Linked DNA regions of Homo sapiens: region 1 is linked to region 2. Evidence: promoter capture Hi-C in human tissues and cell types (Jung and others, 2019). All regions are on one chromosome and are shown on one strand. Each heading gives the region's core, a stretch centred on a gene start or on the middle of the fragment in contact. The rest is flanking DNA. Distances are from core to core; before and after follow the strand shown. Region 1 overlaps SRR (serine racemase). Region 2 holds the start of SERPINF2 (serpin family F member 2).

Region 1 (7,771 bases), core at 5,241-7,740, 570 kb before region 2:
GAGTAATGGATTCAAAGAGATTCTGTCTTACCGGTGCCAGTCAGTACTCCAGGGATGGGAGGCACAAGTTGTGATTGGGCAAAGTTTATTTTCTATGTCAGCCTGTCAGTCCACTGCCCCATTTTGCAAGACTTTTTTTTAGCCTTGACAAAATGTCTCAGTTAAGTATAAAAGTTTTTCCACTACTTAGTCCAAAAAAAACTATTAAATCTTAATGAAATAGCCACTCTCCATTAAGAATCTGATAACTAAGAGTTGACAATACTAGGAAACAAAATGTCTTCAGTATCTAAAGACACTGAATTCCCACCATTTCCTTTTCTGTAAATTAAACAGAAACAGACTGATAAGAAGCTGGCCTTTCAGCCTGCTTCACCCAAGTTATGGAGGAGGTTAAGTCTACATTTCCACCACTGAGCACAATACAAATGTTCTTTACTTCTGGGGAAACAGTTTGAAAATGTTGAGACAGCACAGCAGCCACTCCAACACCAGCTGTAGGTTCAATGAGTAGTTTCATCCTCTCCCACACCAGCTGGGTTGCACACTGTTGATATGGAAGGGAGTAGGAATTAGTGAAAGGGGAGTCTAGTTGGTTTACCTATAAAGTTCAGATGAGAATACGTGTCCAGTTTGAATTTTCTTATCACTGTGTACACACGCTTCCCAAAGCTTTTCTTTAATTCTGACTCTGCTTCTGTCAAGAGGGTTGTCATTAATACATCTAGGGTACCCTCCCATGTCATGAAGTTACCTAGTCAGGTTCCCGTGGGTCACTTGCTACTCCTAAGGGAAGTTTCTTCTGCCTAAGAAGTTACACCATGCTTTGCTATTTCTTTTCTTGCTGGAGCCTCACCTTAATTTCATCCTCTGTGACAGTGAAGATATCATCCACAAGGTCCCTGATAATAGGCCAGGTGTTCAAGCCAATGCTGGATTTGACACCATCTGCTATGGTTTCTGGAGGATAAAGATTGGGCATCAGTTTCCCCTTCAGCTTGGACTGGTAGCAGTCATCTGCATTTGAGGGTTCAGCAGCATATACCTTCACACTAGGTTTCAGAGCCTGGGAAGAGGAATATTAAGACATCTTAACAACAAACCACAACATTGCCTGCATGTCTAAAAGAAAATATGGGCCTGGTGTGGTGGCTCACACCTGTAATCCCAACACTTTGGGAGCCCGAGGCGGGTGGATCAGCTGAGGTCAGGAGTTCAAGACCAGCCTGGCCAACCTGGTGAAATGCAGTGTCAACTAAAAATAGGAAAATCAGCCAGGCGTGGTGGCAGACCCCTGTAATCCCAGCTACTCAAGAGGCTGAGGTAGGAGAATCACTTGAACTTGGGAGGGGTAGGTTGCAGTGAGCTGAGATCACACCAAAATGGGGTGGGGCGCAGTGGCTCACGCCTGTAATCCCAGCACTTTGGGAGGCCGAGGTGGGCGGATCACGAGGTAGGGAGATCAAGACCATCCTGGCTAACACGGTGAAACCCCGTCTCTACTAAAAATACAAAAAAAAAAAACAAAAAAAAACTAGCCAGGCATGGTGGCAGGCACCTGTAGTCCCAGCTACTCGGGAGGCAGAGGCAGGAGAATGGCGTGAACCTGGGAGGTGGAGCTTGCAGTGAGCCAAGATCGTGCCACTGCACTCCAGCCTGGGTGACAGAGTGAGACTCCGTCTCAAAAAAAAAAAGAAAATAGGCACAATAAGTAATACATTTCTGCCCAAGTAAGAGCCTTCCCTTTTGTGGATGTAATGAAAATATCTTCAAGCACTTTATAAATAAATTATATGTCTGATACTAGCCTTCCATTGCCTGGATCACATCTGATTGTCCTGGTAATTTGAGAAAAGGGTAGCCCCTTGGTATGGATAGTAGCTTGATGACATGGAATTCAGGGAAAAGACTATGATGGTGTCACTTGTAACTGCTTTTGTGCTGTAAAATTGTCATGGATTAAGAAGAGAGTTGGCTGGGTGCGGTGGCTCACACCTGTAATCCTAGCACTTTGGGAGGCCAAAGTAAGGACTGCTTGAGCCCAGGAGTTCCAGACCAACCTGGCCAACACAGCAAGACCCCATCTCTTAAAAAAAATAAAAATATTAGAAATAATAAATAGGCCGGGCGCAGTGGCTCACGCCTGTAATCCCAACACTTTGGGAGGCCAAGGCGGGTGGATCGCAAGGTCAGGAGTTCAAGACCAGCCTGACCAACATGGTGAAACCCTGTCTCTACTAAAAAAAATACAAAAAAATTAGCGGGGTGTGGTGGCTCATGCCTGTAATCCCAGCTACTCAGGAGGCTGAGACAGGAGAATCGCTTGAACCCGGGAGGTGGAGGCTGCAGTGGGCCAGGATCGTGCCACTGCACTCCAGCCTGGGCAACAGCGAGAATCTGTCTCAAAAAATAATAATAATAGTAAATAGAGTAGTGAGGCAGAGATGGGCCTTCATCTCAAGTCCCAAAGGAATAAGGGGAAGGAATGGTAATGTGTGCAGAATGTTGAGCACGTGTATACAGAACATTTAGGATGTAAAGTAAATCCTCTGCTTGAAGCAGGGAATCCTCCAGAAGCTGCTCACCTTAACTGTAATTGCTATTCCAGCAAGCATTCCTCCTCCACCTACAGGTACCACCAGTGCATCCACCAAAGGAACCTTTAGTGAAAATATAAACTGTAAGCAGTTTTATATTTAATGTATACATATAAAATAATTGAATATAGCCCAACAGCTTTACCAGTAGCTAAACAGGAAGAACTCAGCTATTTTACCTGGTTCAGCACTTCCAGGGCAATTGTCCCTTGTCCAGCTATCACTGCAGGCTCCTGGTTGGGATGTACCATGATGCCTTCTGTTTCTTCTGTAACTCTTTTTGCAACATTTTCTCTGGACTGAAAGTACATTAATTTAGCTTAATTGATTTGTATTTAATAGAGTCCCCAACAAGTTCCATTTGGTCATTCAGCATTTTATTGACCATCTACTTTTTTCACACTTTGTTCAGGTACTAGAGATATATATGTTAATAAAATATCCCTGCCCTCAAGCACGTTATATTGTATGGTAGAGATGGATGAAGTAAATATATGGTATGTCTAAGTGCAATGGAGTAAAATGAAGGAATTTATTTCATATAGGGTAGCCAAGAAGAGCCTCTAGTAAAGTGACATTTTAAAAGATCTGAACAAGTGCTGTGGATGTCTAGAATATTCCAGAGAGGGGGTAACAGTGCAAAGACTACAAAGTAGGAGTGCTTGGCCTTTCTGAGGAACAGCTAAAAAGGTTAGTATGGCTGGCACAGAGTGGGCAAGAGAAATAATAGAAGATGAGGTCAAGGCTGGGTGCAGTGGCTGACACCTATAATCCCAGCACTCTGGGAGGCCAAGGTGGGCAGATCACTTCAGGTCAGGAGTTCAAGACCAGCCTTGCCAACACGGCAAAACCCCGTCTCTACTAAAAATACAAAAATTAGCCAGATGTGGTGGCACGCGCCTGTAATCCCAGCTACTCTGGTGGCTGAGGCATGAGAATCTCTTGAACCCAGGAAGCGGAGGCTGCAGGGAGCTGAGAAGAAACTACCGCACTCCAGCCTGGGTTGGACAGAGTGAGACCCTGTCTCAAAATAAATAAAAAGAAGATGAGGGACCAGGCACGGTGGCTCACACTTGTAATCCCAGCACTTTGGGAGGCCAAGGCGGGCAGATCACGAGGTCAGGAGTTCGAGACCAGCCTGGCCAATATGGTGAAACCCTGTCTGTACTAAAGAATCAAAAATTAGCTGGGCATGGTGGCACGCGCCTGTAGTCCCAGCTACTCGGGAGGCTGAGGCAGAAGAATCGCTTGAACCCAGGAGGCGGAGGTTGCAGTGAGCCGAGATTGTGCCGCTGCACTCCAGCCTGGGAGACGGGGAGATTCTGTCTAAAAAAAAAAAAAAAAAAAAAAAAAGATGAGAGATGAGGTCAGAAAGATAGGAATGTTTGAGTTTATCCAGGGATTAGATGATTGCAAGAACTCTCGTTTCCACCGTGTATGAGATGGGAAACCAACAGAGGATTTAGACTTGAAAAGAGACAAGTTCTGGCCAGGCGTGGTGGCTCACGCCTGTAATCCCAGCACTTTGGGAGGCCGAGGTGGGTGGATCACGAGGTCAGGAGATCGAGACCATCCTGGCTAACACAGTGAAACCCCGTCTCTACTAAAAATAGAAAAAATTAGCTGGGCATGGTGGCAGGCGCCTGTAGTCCCAGCTACTCGGGAGGCTGAGGCAAGAGAATCGCTGGAACCCAGGAGGCGGGGCTTGCAGTGAGCCAAGATGGCACCACTGCACTCCAGCTTGGGCGACAGAGCAAGACTCCGCCTCAAAAAAAAAAAAAAAGAAGAGACAAGTTCTGACTTTATTAAATGGAGACCTCTGGTTGCTCAAAAAAGCCTGTAGTGTGGCAAGGGTGGATGCAGAGAGACCAGTTTGGCTACTGAATTGAATATAGGTGAGAATTGATGTTGGTTTGAATCAGAGTGCTAACGGTAGACACAGAAGCAGTTGGGTTATGGAAATATGTTGAAAGCAGACTGAGATTTGGATGTGGGGTATGAGAGGGTTATCAGAGAGGATTCCTGGCTGTGTGCAGTGGGTCATGCCTGTGATCCCAGCATTTTGGGAGGCCAAGGTGGGAGGACTGCTTGAATCCAGGAGTTTGAGACCAGCCTGGGCAACAGTGAGACCCTGTCTACAAAAAATAAAGGAATTAGGTGTGGTGGCATGCACCTGTAGTCCTAGCTACTCAACAGGCTGAGGCAGAAGGATCCCACAACATAGAAAGAGTCCATCTTTAACAACAACAACAAAAAATTTTCAAAAAAAGATGACTCCAACTTTTTTTTGAGTAACTAGAAGAATAAAAATTGCCATTTACTAAGATGAGGAAGACTGGAAGGGAAGCAATATAGGGAAGTAAGATCAGGAGTTTGGTTTTAGCTGTAGTTTGAGATGCCTTTTAAGACATCAAGTGGGAAAGTTAGGTAGCTGTTATATAAAAGTTGGCTGTTAAAGGGAGAGAAGTTGGAGTTGGTGTTGTTAGACCATAGGTAATAATTTAAGAAATGAGACTAATGAGATCTTGTGAGTGTAGATAGAGAAAAGGTTGAGCATGCTAACAGAAATAAAGGGGAAACCACAAAGGAGGCTGAGAAGGAGCAGCCAGTAAGGTAGAAAGAGCCATTGGTCAAATGAAAGCTGTTAAGGTGGTACCAAGCACTGCTCTCCTTACCTCATCACTAGGTTCACAGTATACAATTGACGCTCCGTAGGCTTGTATTGCAAGTTTTTTACAGTCTGGAGCTGTCTGGGGCACCACAATATAAGCAGGAATTCCTGGGAGAGGAAAACGAGAGGAAAAAGTCAGGAGAATTTAGAATAGAAACTTATGTGGCCAGGCACGGTGGGTCACACCTGTAATCCCAGCACTTTGGGAGGCTGAGGCAGGCGGATCACAAGGTCAGGAAATTGAGACCATCCTGGCTAACACGGTGAAACCCTGTCTTTACTAAAAATACAAAAAAAAAAAAAAAAAAAAAAAATAGCCAGGCATGGTGGCAGGCTCCTGTAGTCCCAGGCTGAGGCAGGACAATGGTGTGAACCCGGGAGGTGGAGCTTGCAGTGAGCCGAGATCCTGCCACTGCATTCCAGCCTGGGCGACAGTGCAAGACTCCGTCTCAAAAAAAAAAAAAAAAAAGAAAGAAACATGTTCAGCCAGGTGTGGTGGCTCACGCCTGTAATCCTAGGACTTTGGGAGGCCAAGGCGGGTGGATTGCTTGAGCCCAGGAGTTCGAGACCAGCCTGGGCAACATGGTGAAATTAGTATTTTGTATTTGTAAAATAGAAAAAATTAGCCAGGCGTGGTGGTGCGCACCTGTAGTCCCAGCTACTCAGGAGGCTGAGGCAGGAGAATCGCTTGAACCCGGCAGGTGGAGGTTACAGTGAGCCGAGATCGCGTCACCGCTCTCCAGCCTGGGTGACAGCAAGATTCTGTCTTCAAAAAAACAAAACAAACAAAAAAAAAACTTATGTTCATATTGCTTGCAATCAGATAGAGATTTCTTTGGAAAGTTACTTCCCACAGCTATCATCACTCTCACTGAAATTAAGGGCACTTTTCCACTCCTTTCTGAAGATCTACCCAGTACCTTGAGAAATCAAGTACCTTCCAATTTGGCAGCATAGGTGAGAGCCTGGCCATGGTTTCCACTGCTGTGAGTAACAACAGCTTTCGGCTTCCTTTCTAAAGCATCAGGAACCAAGCTTCTGACGGCATTGAGAGCACCACGAATCTGAAAAAGAGGGATGGTGAATTCACATATTTGATTAAAACATTGTTTTGGAAAGCAAGGAGCTTTTCTAGATTTTCTATCCTTAACATGCACATCCAATCTGTCACCAAATCTTATCGATTTACCTCTTAAATATCTCATGTGCATCTTTATTTTTTATTTTTTTGAGATGGAGTCTCCGTTATCCCGGCTGGAGTGCAGTGCCACGATCTCGGCTTACTGCAACGTCCGCCTCCCCACACTGCGTCTACCCCCAGGGCCGGGTTCAAGTGATTTTCCTGCCTCAGCCTCCCAAGTAGCTGGGATTATAGGCACCTGCCACCATGCCCGGCTAAATTTTTTTTTTTTATTTTTTTAGACCTAGTCTCGCTCTGTTGTAGCCCGGGCTGCAGTGCAGTGGCGCGATCTCGGCTCACTGCAAGCTCCGCCTCCCGGGTTCACGCCATTCTCCTGCCTCAGCTTCTCGAGTAGCCGGGTCTGCAGGCGCCCGCCACCACGCCCGGCTAATTTTTTTGTATTTTTAGTAGCGACGGGGTTTCCCCGTGTTAGCCAGGATGGTCTCGATCTTTTGACCTCGTTATCCGCCTGCCTCAGCCTCCCAAAGTGCTGGGATTACAGGCGTGAGCCACCGCACCCGGCCTTTTTTTTTTTTTTTTTTTTTTCCCCCGAGATGGAGTCTTCCTCTATCACCCATGGTGGAGTGCAATGGCGTGATCTCAACTCACTGCAACCTCTGCCTTCTGGGTTCAAGCAATTCTCCTGCCTCAGCCTCCCAAGCAGCTGGGATTACAGGTGCCTGGCACCAAGTCCCGCTCATTTTGTATTTTTAGTAGAAAGTGTTTCACCAAGGCTGGGTGCGGTGACTCATGCCAGTAATCCCAGCACTTTGGGAGGCAGAGGCGGGCGGATCACAAGGTCAGATCAAGAACATCCTGGCTAACACGGTGAAACCCTGTCTCTACTAAAAATTCAAAAAAAAAAAAAAAAAAATTAGCTGGGCGTGGTGGCAGGCGCCTGTAGTCCCAGGTAATCGGGTGGCTGAGGCAGGAGAATGGCGTGAACCTGGGAGGTGGAGCTTACAGTGAGCCGAGATCGTGCCACTGCACTCCAGCCTGGGGGACAGAGTGAGACTCCGTCTCAAAACAAAACAAAACAAAACAAAAAAGCGTTTCATCATGTTGGTCAGGCTGGTGTCGAACTCCTGACCTCAGGTGATCCACCTGCCTCAGCCTCCCAAAGTGCTGGGATTACAAGTGTGAACCACTGCGCCTGTCATATATTTGTATTTTTTGTAGACAGAGTTTTGCCGTGTGGCCCAGGCTTAGATCTTTTATATTGATAATGTATCCATGTGTAGCAAGTTGATACAGTGAATGCTTAAACTTGGGTCATATACAGAGTGATAACACTTTCCAATTTGCCTGCAACAGTTCAGGTGT
Region 2 (7,479 bases), core at 45-2,544:
CAGCACTTTGGGAGGCCAGGGGCAGGTGGATCACCTGAGGTCGGGAGTTCAAGACCAGCCTGGCCAACATGGTAAAACCCCATCTCTACTGAAAATACAAAATTAGCCAGGCGTGGTGGTGGGCCCCTGTAATCCCAGCTACTCGGGAGGCTGAGGCAGAGAACTGCTTGAACCCGGGAGGCGGAGGTTGCAGTGAGCCGAGATCACGCCACTGCACTCCAGCCTGGGCGACAGAGCAAGACTCTGTCTCAAAAAAATAAATAAGACCATCTTTGTAAACCCTGAGTACAATGCTTGGCACTCCCCCGATGGCTGGGGTCAGCTTGGCTCAAGGCCACCTCTTCTGGGAAGCCTGCCCTGAAGCCTCCACCGCAGAGCTCCAACACAGAGCTCCTACCCAGCCTGCTGCATCCATTTAGCCTGTCTTTTTTTTTTTTTTTTTTTTTTTTGAGATGGAGTTTCATTCTTATCATGCAGGCTGGAGTGCAATGGCACGATCTCGGCTCACTGCAACCTCCACCTCCTGGGTTAAAGCGATTCTCCTGCCTCAGCCTCCCGAGTAGCTGGGATTACAGGCATGTGCCACCATGCCTGGCTAATTTTGTATTTTTAGTAGAGACAGGGTTTCTCCATGTTGGTCAGGCTGGTCTCGAACTCCTGACCTCAGGTGATCCACCTGCCTCAGCCTCCCAAAGTGCTGGGATGACAGGCATGAGCCACCACGCCTGGCCCCAACCCGTCTTTCTCAGGCTGGTCAGGTCTTGCCCACAAGGCTGGACATACCTGTGAGGCCCTGAGGTCTCACCATGGGTGGCAAGGCAGCCAGAGAGCTGCCTTTTGACCCAGCAGCAGAGCCCAGTGAATGACTCTGGCCAGAGCCACCTCTGCACTTAGGAGCATCACAGGCCTCTGCTCCAGGCTGGCTCTGGGAAGGGCAGGTGTTGGTCTCAGGAGGATAAGTCAGAGCAGGTCTCAGCTACCTCCAGCCCACCCCCATCTTGGGGCCAACCCTTCTGGAGGATCCTTTGGTCCCCCCGGCCCCACCCCCATCCCACACAAGAGCCCTTGGCCAGGGCCCCGACTCCGACCTGGGCATTAGAATCTTCTTGCCAAGAACAGGCTCCAGTTTTTCAAGTCCCAGAAGAGGCTGGGGAGTGACAGGCCTCCTGAATAAATCCCAGACCCCTCAGCCAGGGAGGCAGCTCCCTCCTCCTCTCCTACCCAAGGAGCAGGCCGAGCAGCCCCTCCCCTCATACCTCTGCGGGCTCCTTGCTGCCACACACAACGTTCCTCTGGCCCCACTTGGGTGCTCCTCACTCTCTGCCCAGGCTCCAGCTGGCCCAGCCCACCCCTCCCCTCCCACCAGGACCTTTACTCTCAGCCAACCCCTGTTCAGATTGCTTTCTCTTCTGGTAAATATTGACTTGCACATCCAGTTAAACATTGATCTTGAAGCCAGAAGCCCCTTTCCCACCAGGGCATCTAACCCTGAGGCAGCCACGCAGAACCCCCTATATTTGGGTCCCCCCCCCCGAGCCTGGAAAGAGAAAGTTCAGGAGGAGAGAGTTGAAGAGACTGGATCTGGCTAGCCAAGAGGGCGGATCCAGAAAGCACAGGAACCTAGCACTGTGTTAAGCCTTCCAGAGACCCCACGAGGTGTGGATTATCCCTGGTTCAGCCAGGCTCAGAGAGGCCATGTGACCTGCCCAAGGACACAGAGCTGGGCTGAGGCACATCCAGATTCTCACTCCCAATGTCCTTTCTTCTCCCAGAGAGCTGCCTCCCGCTCCTGAGGGGAGGAAAGGGGAAGCCACAAGAGCCTATGCAGAGAGCCCAGGATAGGAAGCCCACCCCCAACCTTCCAAGCCCAGGATCAGGTTGGCTGCCTTCAGACTGGGATGGAAGGCAGGGGGTGAGGGAGGAGAAATGAGAGGGACTCAACTTCTCCCACCGTCCTGCCACTCCAGAGCAATGTCTCTTTCCCCTACCCAAGAGCGAGGGTTCTGGAAACTGACCTGGGGCTGTATGAACCAGAAGCCTGGCAGCCCGTGCAAAGATCAGGCTGCTTCCCACCCTCACTGTCCGGCTCCTCACTCCCTGCATCAGGCTCCTTCCCACCCTCACTGTCCTGCTCCTCACTCCCTGTATCAGGCCCCTTCCCACCCTCACTGTCCTGCTCCTCACTCCCTGCATCAGGCCGCTTCCCGCCCTCACACCTGCTCCTCACTCCCTGCATCAGGCTCCTTCCCACCCTCACTGTCCGGCTCCTCACTCCCTGCATCAGGCTCCTTCCCACCCTCACTGTCCGGCTCCTCACTCCCTGCATCAGGCTCCTTCCCACCCTCACTGTCCTGCGCCTCACTCCCTGCATCGGGCCACTTCCCACCCTCACTGTCCTGCTCCTCACTCCCTGCATCAGGCCGCCTCCCACCCTCACTGTCCGGCTCCTCACTCCCTGCATCAGGCCGCCTCCCACCCTCACTGTCCTGCTCCTCACTCCCTGCATCAGGCTCCTTCCCACCCTCACTGTCCTGCGCCTCACTCCCTGCATCAGGCCACTTCCCACCCTCACTGTCCTGCTCCTCACTCCCTGCATCAGGCTCCTTCCCATCCTCACTGTCCAGCTCCTCACTCCCTGCATCAGGCTCCTTCCCACCCTCACTGTCCGGCTCCTCACTCCCTGCATCAGGCTCCTTCCCACCTTCACTGTCCTGCTCCTCACTCCCTGCATCAGGCTCCTTCCCACCCTCACTGTCCTGCGCCTCACTCCCTGCATCAGGCTCCTTCCCACCCTCACTGTCTTGCGCCTCACTCCCTGCATCAGGCCCCTTCCCACCTTCACTGTCCTGCGCCTCACTCCCTGCATCAGGCTCCTTCCCACCCTCACTGTCCGGCTCCTCACTCCCTGCATCAGGCCCCTTCCCACCCTCACTGTCCTGCGCCTCACTCCCTGCATCAGGCCCCTTCCCACCCTCACTGTCCTGCGCCTCACTCCCTGCATCAGGCTCCTTCCCACCCTCAGTGTCCGGCTCCTCACTCCCTGCATCAGGCCCCTTCCCACCCTCACTGTCCTGCGCCTCACTCCCTGCATCAGGCCCCTTCCCACCCTCACTGTCCTGCGCCTCACTCCCTGCATCAGGCTCCTTCCCACCCTCACTGTCCGGCTCCTCACTCCCTGCATCAGGCCCCTTCCCACCCTCACTGTCCTGCGCCTCACTCCCTGCATCAGGCCCCTTCCCACCCTCACTGTCCTGCGCCTCACTCCCTGCATCAGGCCACTTCCCACCCTCACTGTCCTGCGCCTCACTCCCTGCATCAGGCCACTTCCCACCCTCACTGTCCTGCGCCTCACTCCCTGCATCAGGCTCCTTCCCACCCTCACTGTCCTGCGCCTCACTCCCTGCATCAGGCTCCTTCCCACCCTCACTGTCCTGCGCCTCACTCCCTGCATCAGGCCGCCTCCCACCCTGACTGTCCTGCTCCTCACTCCCTGCATCAGGCTCCTTCCCACCCTCACTGTCCTGCGCCTCACTCCCTGCATCAGGCCGCCTCCCACCCTCACTGTCCTGCGCCTCACTCCCTGCATCAGGCTCCTTCCCACCCTCACTGTCCGGCTCCTCACTCCCTGCATCAGGCTCCTTCCCACCCTCACTGTCCGGCTCCTCACTCCCTGCATCAGGCCGCCTCCCACCCTCACTGTCCTGCTCCTCACTCCCTGCATCAGGCTCCTTCCCACCCTCACTGTCCTGCGCCTCACTCCCTGCATCAGGCCCCTTCCCACCCTCACTGTCCTGCGCCTCACTCCCTGCATCAGGCTCCTTCCCACCCTCACTGTCCGGCTCCTCACTCCCTGCATCAGGCTCCTTCCCACCCTCACTGTCCTGCGCCTCACTCCCTGCATCAGGCCACTTCCCACCCTCACTGTCCTGTGCCTCACTCCCTGCATCAGGCTCCTTCCCACCCTCACTGTCCTGCGCCTCACTCCCTGCATCAGGCTCCTTCCCACCCTCACTGTCCTGCGCCTCACTCCCTGCATCAGGCCGCCTCCCACCCTCACTGTCCTGCTCCTCACTCCCTGCATCAGGCTCCTTCCCACCCTCACTGTCCTGCGCCTCACTCCCTGCATCAGGCCGCCTCCCACCCTCACTGTCCTGCGCCTCACTCCCTGCATCAGGCTCCTTCCCACCCTCACTGTCCGGCTCCTCACTCCCTGCATCAGGCCACCTCCCACCCTCACTGTCCTGCTCCTCACTCCCTGCATCAGGCTCCTTCCCACCCTCACTGTCCGGCTCCTCACTCCCTGCATCAGGCTCCTTCCCACCCTCACTGTCCTGCGCCTCACTCCCTGCATCAGGCCCCTTCCCACCCTCACTGTCCTGCGCCTCACTCCCTGCATCAGGCTCCTTCCCACCCTCACTGTCCTGCGCCTCACTCCCTGCATCAGGCCGCCTCCCACCCTCACTGTCCTGCGCCTCACTCCCTGCATCAGGCCACTTCCCACCCTCACTGTCCTGCTCCTCACTCCCTGCATCAGGCTCCTTCCCACCCTCACTGTCCTGCGCCTCACTCCCTGCATCAGGCTCCTTCCCACCCTCACTGTCCTGCGCCTCACTCCCTGCATCAGGCTCCTTCCCACCCTCACTGTCCTGCGCCTCACTCCCTGCATCAGGCCGCTTCCCGCCCTCACACCTGCTCCTCACTCCCTGCATCAGGCCACTTCCCACCCTCACTGTCCTGCTCCTCACTCCCTGCATCAGGCTCCTTCCCACCCTCACTGTCCGGCTCCTCACTCCCTGCATCAGGCTCCTTCCCACCCTCACTGTCCTGCTCCTCACTCCCTGCATCAGGCTCCTTCCCACCCTCACTGTCCTGCGCCTCACTCCCTGCATCAGGCTCCTTCCCACCCTCACTGTCCTGCGCCTCACTCCCTGCATCAGGCCGCCTCCCACCCTCACTGTCCGGCTCCTCACTCCCTGCATCAGGCTCCTTCCCACCCTCACTGTCCTGCGCCTCACTCCCTGCATCAGGCTCCTTCCCACCCTCACTGTCCTGCGCCTCACTCCCTGCATCAGGCTCCTTCCCACCCTCACTGTCCTGCGCCTCACTCCCTGCATCAGGCTCCTTCCCACCCTCACTGTCCTGCGCCTCACTCCCTGCATCAGGCTCCTTCCCACCCTCACTGTCCTGCGCCTCACTCCCTGCATCAGGCTCCTTCCCACCCTCACTGTCCTGCGCCTCACTCCCTGCATCAGGCTCCTTCCCACCCTCACTGTCCTGCGCCTCACTCCCTGCATCAGGCCGCCTCCTACCCTCACTGTCCTGCTCCTCACTCCCTCCATCAGGCCCCTTCCCACCCTCACTGTCCTGGAAACTGCTGGGTCTCGACTTTCCCCACCCTGACACCACCAGCAAGATAAGCCTCAGGCTGGGCGTGGTGGCTCATGCCTGTAATCCCAACACTTTGGGAGGCCGAGGCAGGAGGATCGCTTGAGCCCAGGAGTTGGAGACCAGCTTGGGCAACATAGTCAGACTCCATCTCTATTGAAAAAAAAAAAAAAGACAAGCCTCAGTTCACCCCATGGCTCTTCCAAAGGATTTATTGGTCCTATTTACATCTATTGCAAATTGTGAGAAGGCAGCAGGGGCCAACCCCTGGACCTCATCTCTGTCTAGAATGTGAGGTCGCAGGGATGCTTAAGTCTTCCTCTGGCAGAGACCCGAGGTGCAGAGATGATTCTTCTCACCCCTTCTCTCAGGGTCGTGGAGCCCCAGCAGGGGTTCAGGGCCCAGAGGCTGCCCCCTCAGCTGAAGGCACAAACACTGTGGTAGGGGTGGGCAGACAACGCATGGACTCACTCCTGGCAGGCGCCACTGGCCAAGTGCACCTTTTCCCCCTGCTCCTAGCCTCCTTCTTCCTTCCCGTCCCGGTCCCACACTGGCCAGGGCCTGGATGGGTGGCCACTTAAACCCCAGACCCAAGCCCTTAACTCCTGGACCACGGCCAGCCTTCCTTAGGCTGGAATCCAAGCACCATCAGTGCCCTGGACCAGGCCAGCTTCCCTGTCCTAGAGGGATGGGACAGAGAGTGCCCAGCGGGGGCTGAGGGGCTAGAGACCGGCTGGGCAGGGCCAGTCTCCCTTCCCCTTCCCGAGCTTCCCTGTCCTCATGTGGACCCAGAGGGCAGAGCTGGGGAGAAGTGAAGGTAGCAACGCTTCCTCCTGCTCTTAACTTCCTGCTTGCTAGGAGCCCTGTGTCCCCAAGCCATGAATGAGACCCCTCTGGCAGGCTTGGTGGCTCTGGTGATTCAGGGGCCAGGACTCCCCCACTCCATTTGCAGGCCCTAGTTGGCAGGCCATGTGGGCACCCAGGGCGTGGGACCCAGGGCCTCCCTGGAGGGAGCTGCTGCTCAGGGAACAGGGTGAGTGGACACGCGCCCGCAGATGTCTTCCCACCCTTGCCCGGCCAGCTCCTGCCTCAGTCTATGCCAGGAGGCGGATAACCCCGTTGTCTGAGCCCAGCAGGAGGTGGCGTTTAGTGGGCAGCAAGGCCAGGCTGGTGAGCGTGCCGCGGAAGTTCTCAGAGCTGAGCTTCGTGGTGGCCTGCGAGGGTGGCTCAAGCAGGGAGCAGACGCCAATCTTGTTGGACACGGTGCCAGTGACCACCTCGCTGCCGTACAGGTCAAAGGTGTGGATGGGGTCGGATGCTGACTTGTAGTGATGGGTGGGCTTCTGCTCCAGCTCCTTCCAGACGGTCAAGGAATGGTCAGAGGAGGAGCTGACCAGGACGCTGCCCTCCACCGCCTGTCCCGGGAGAGGAGAGCCTCAGCAGGAGCCTGGGTCCTTCTGCATACCCTTGGGCCCCAAGGCCTTCCCAGTTCCCTCCGCAGTTTCTCTCCAGGGAGACAGGCCGTCCTGGGTGGGTGACAAGCCGCCACCCTCCCACACACACCATATTCACGTTGGTTCATTTTAATACGCTCAGCATCCGTAACCCAGTCGTCACTCTAACTTGAGAACTACGCACAGGCATGGTGCCAGGCGTGCACGTGACGACCTTGACCTTCGTAACAACCCTATGCGGTGGATGCTGCCATTGTCCCCATTTCACAAACAGGAAAAGTGAGGCTCAGAGAAGTGAAGTAACCATACCAAGGTCATGGGGCCAGCAAGCAGCAGAGCTGGGATTAACACCCAGGCTGACCCCAGAGCCCTCCTGACACTTTCTTGGAAAGTTAGAATTTGGGGGCACCTTGAGCTGAGGGTTCCCTGGGGCTCTGGAGGGAGCCAGCGACAGCCTGCTGTCAGCAGGGCAATGCAAGACTCCTGGCCTCCAGCCAAGCTGGGGAGGAAAGTCCCAGCTGCCTGCAGAAATCCTCCCACACGAAGCCCTGTTCCTCCCCTCCTGGGCCTCCCTGAGCAGCTCCCCGAGGCCTGTGACTGAGAATGGAGGGAGGGGGAGGGGAAGGAGACGGGGACAGGA

Evidence for each region. The method cuts DNA at HindIII sites, captures the fragments that hold promoters and counts their contacts. A contact is called where the count stands out against the background at its distance.
Region 1: a fragment that was not itself captured here is called in contact with the fragment with the promoter of SERPINF2 in region 2 in 2 of the 25 tissues and cell types used here (dorsolateral prefrontal cortex and pancreas).

What each region holds. Positions count from the first base shown.
Region 1 is chr17:2,316,431-2,324,201 of GRCh38, reverse strand. SRR (serine racemase) reads right to left here. Exons shown (of 8, transcript NM_021947.3): 3 at 6,206-6,332; 4 at 5,273-5,376; 5 at 2,777-2,896; 6 at 2,586-2,660; 7 at 857-1,066; 8 at 1-547. The coding sequence ends at 329. It overlaps TSR1 (TSR1 ribosome maturation factor), which reads left to right. Exons shown (of 15, transcript NM_018128.5): 15 at 1-1,806. The coding sequence ends at 6. Among named protein-coding and RNA genes, the nearest start is that of SNORD91B, 8.9 kb to the left of the region's middle. The HindIII fragment of the contact is 6,003 bases long and covers 3,489-7,771 here.
Region 2 is chr17:1,736,686-1,744,164 of GRCh38, reverse strand. SERPINF2 (serpin family F member 2) reads right to left here and starts at 1,294. Exons shown (of 10, transcript NM_000934.4): 1 at 1,257-1,294. It overlaps WDR81 (WD repeat domain 81), which reads right to left. Exons shown (of 10, transcript NM_001163809.2): 10 at 5,580-6,800. The coding sequence ends at 6,480. RefSeq lists a silencer at 7,236-7,479. The HindIII fragment of the contact is 23,738 bases long and covers 1-7,479 here.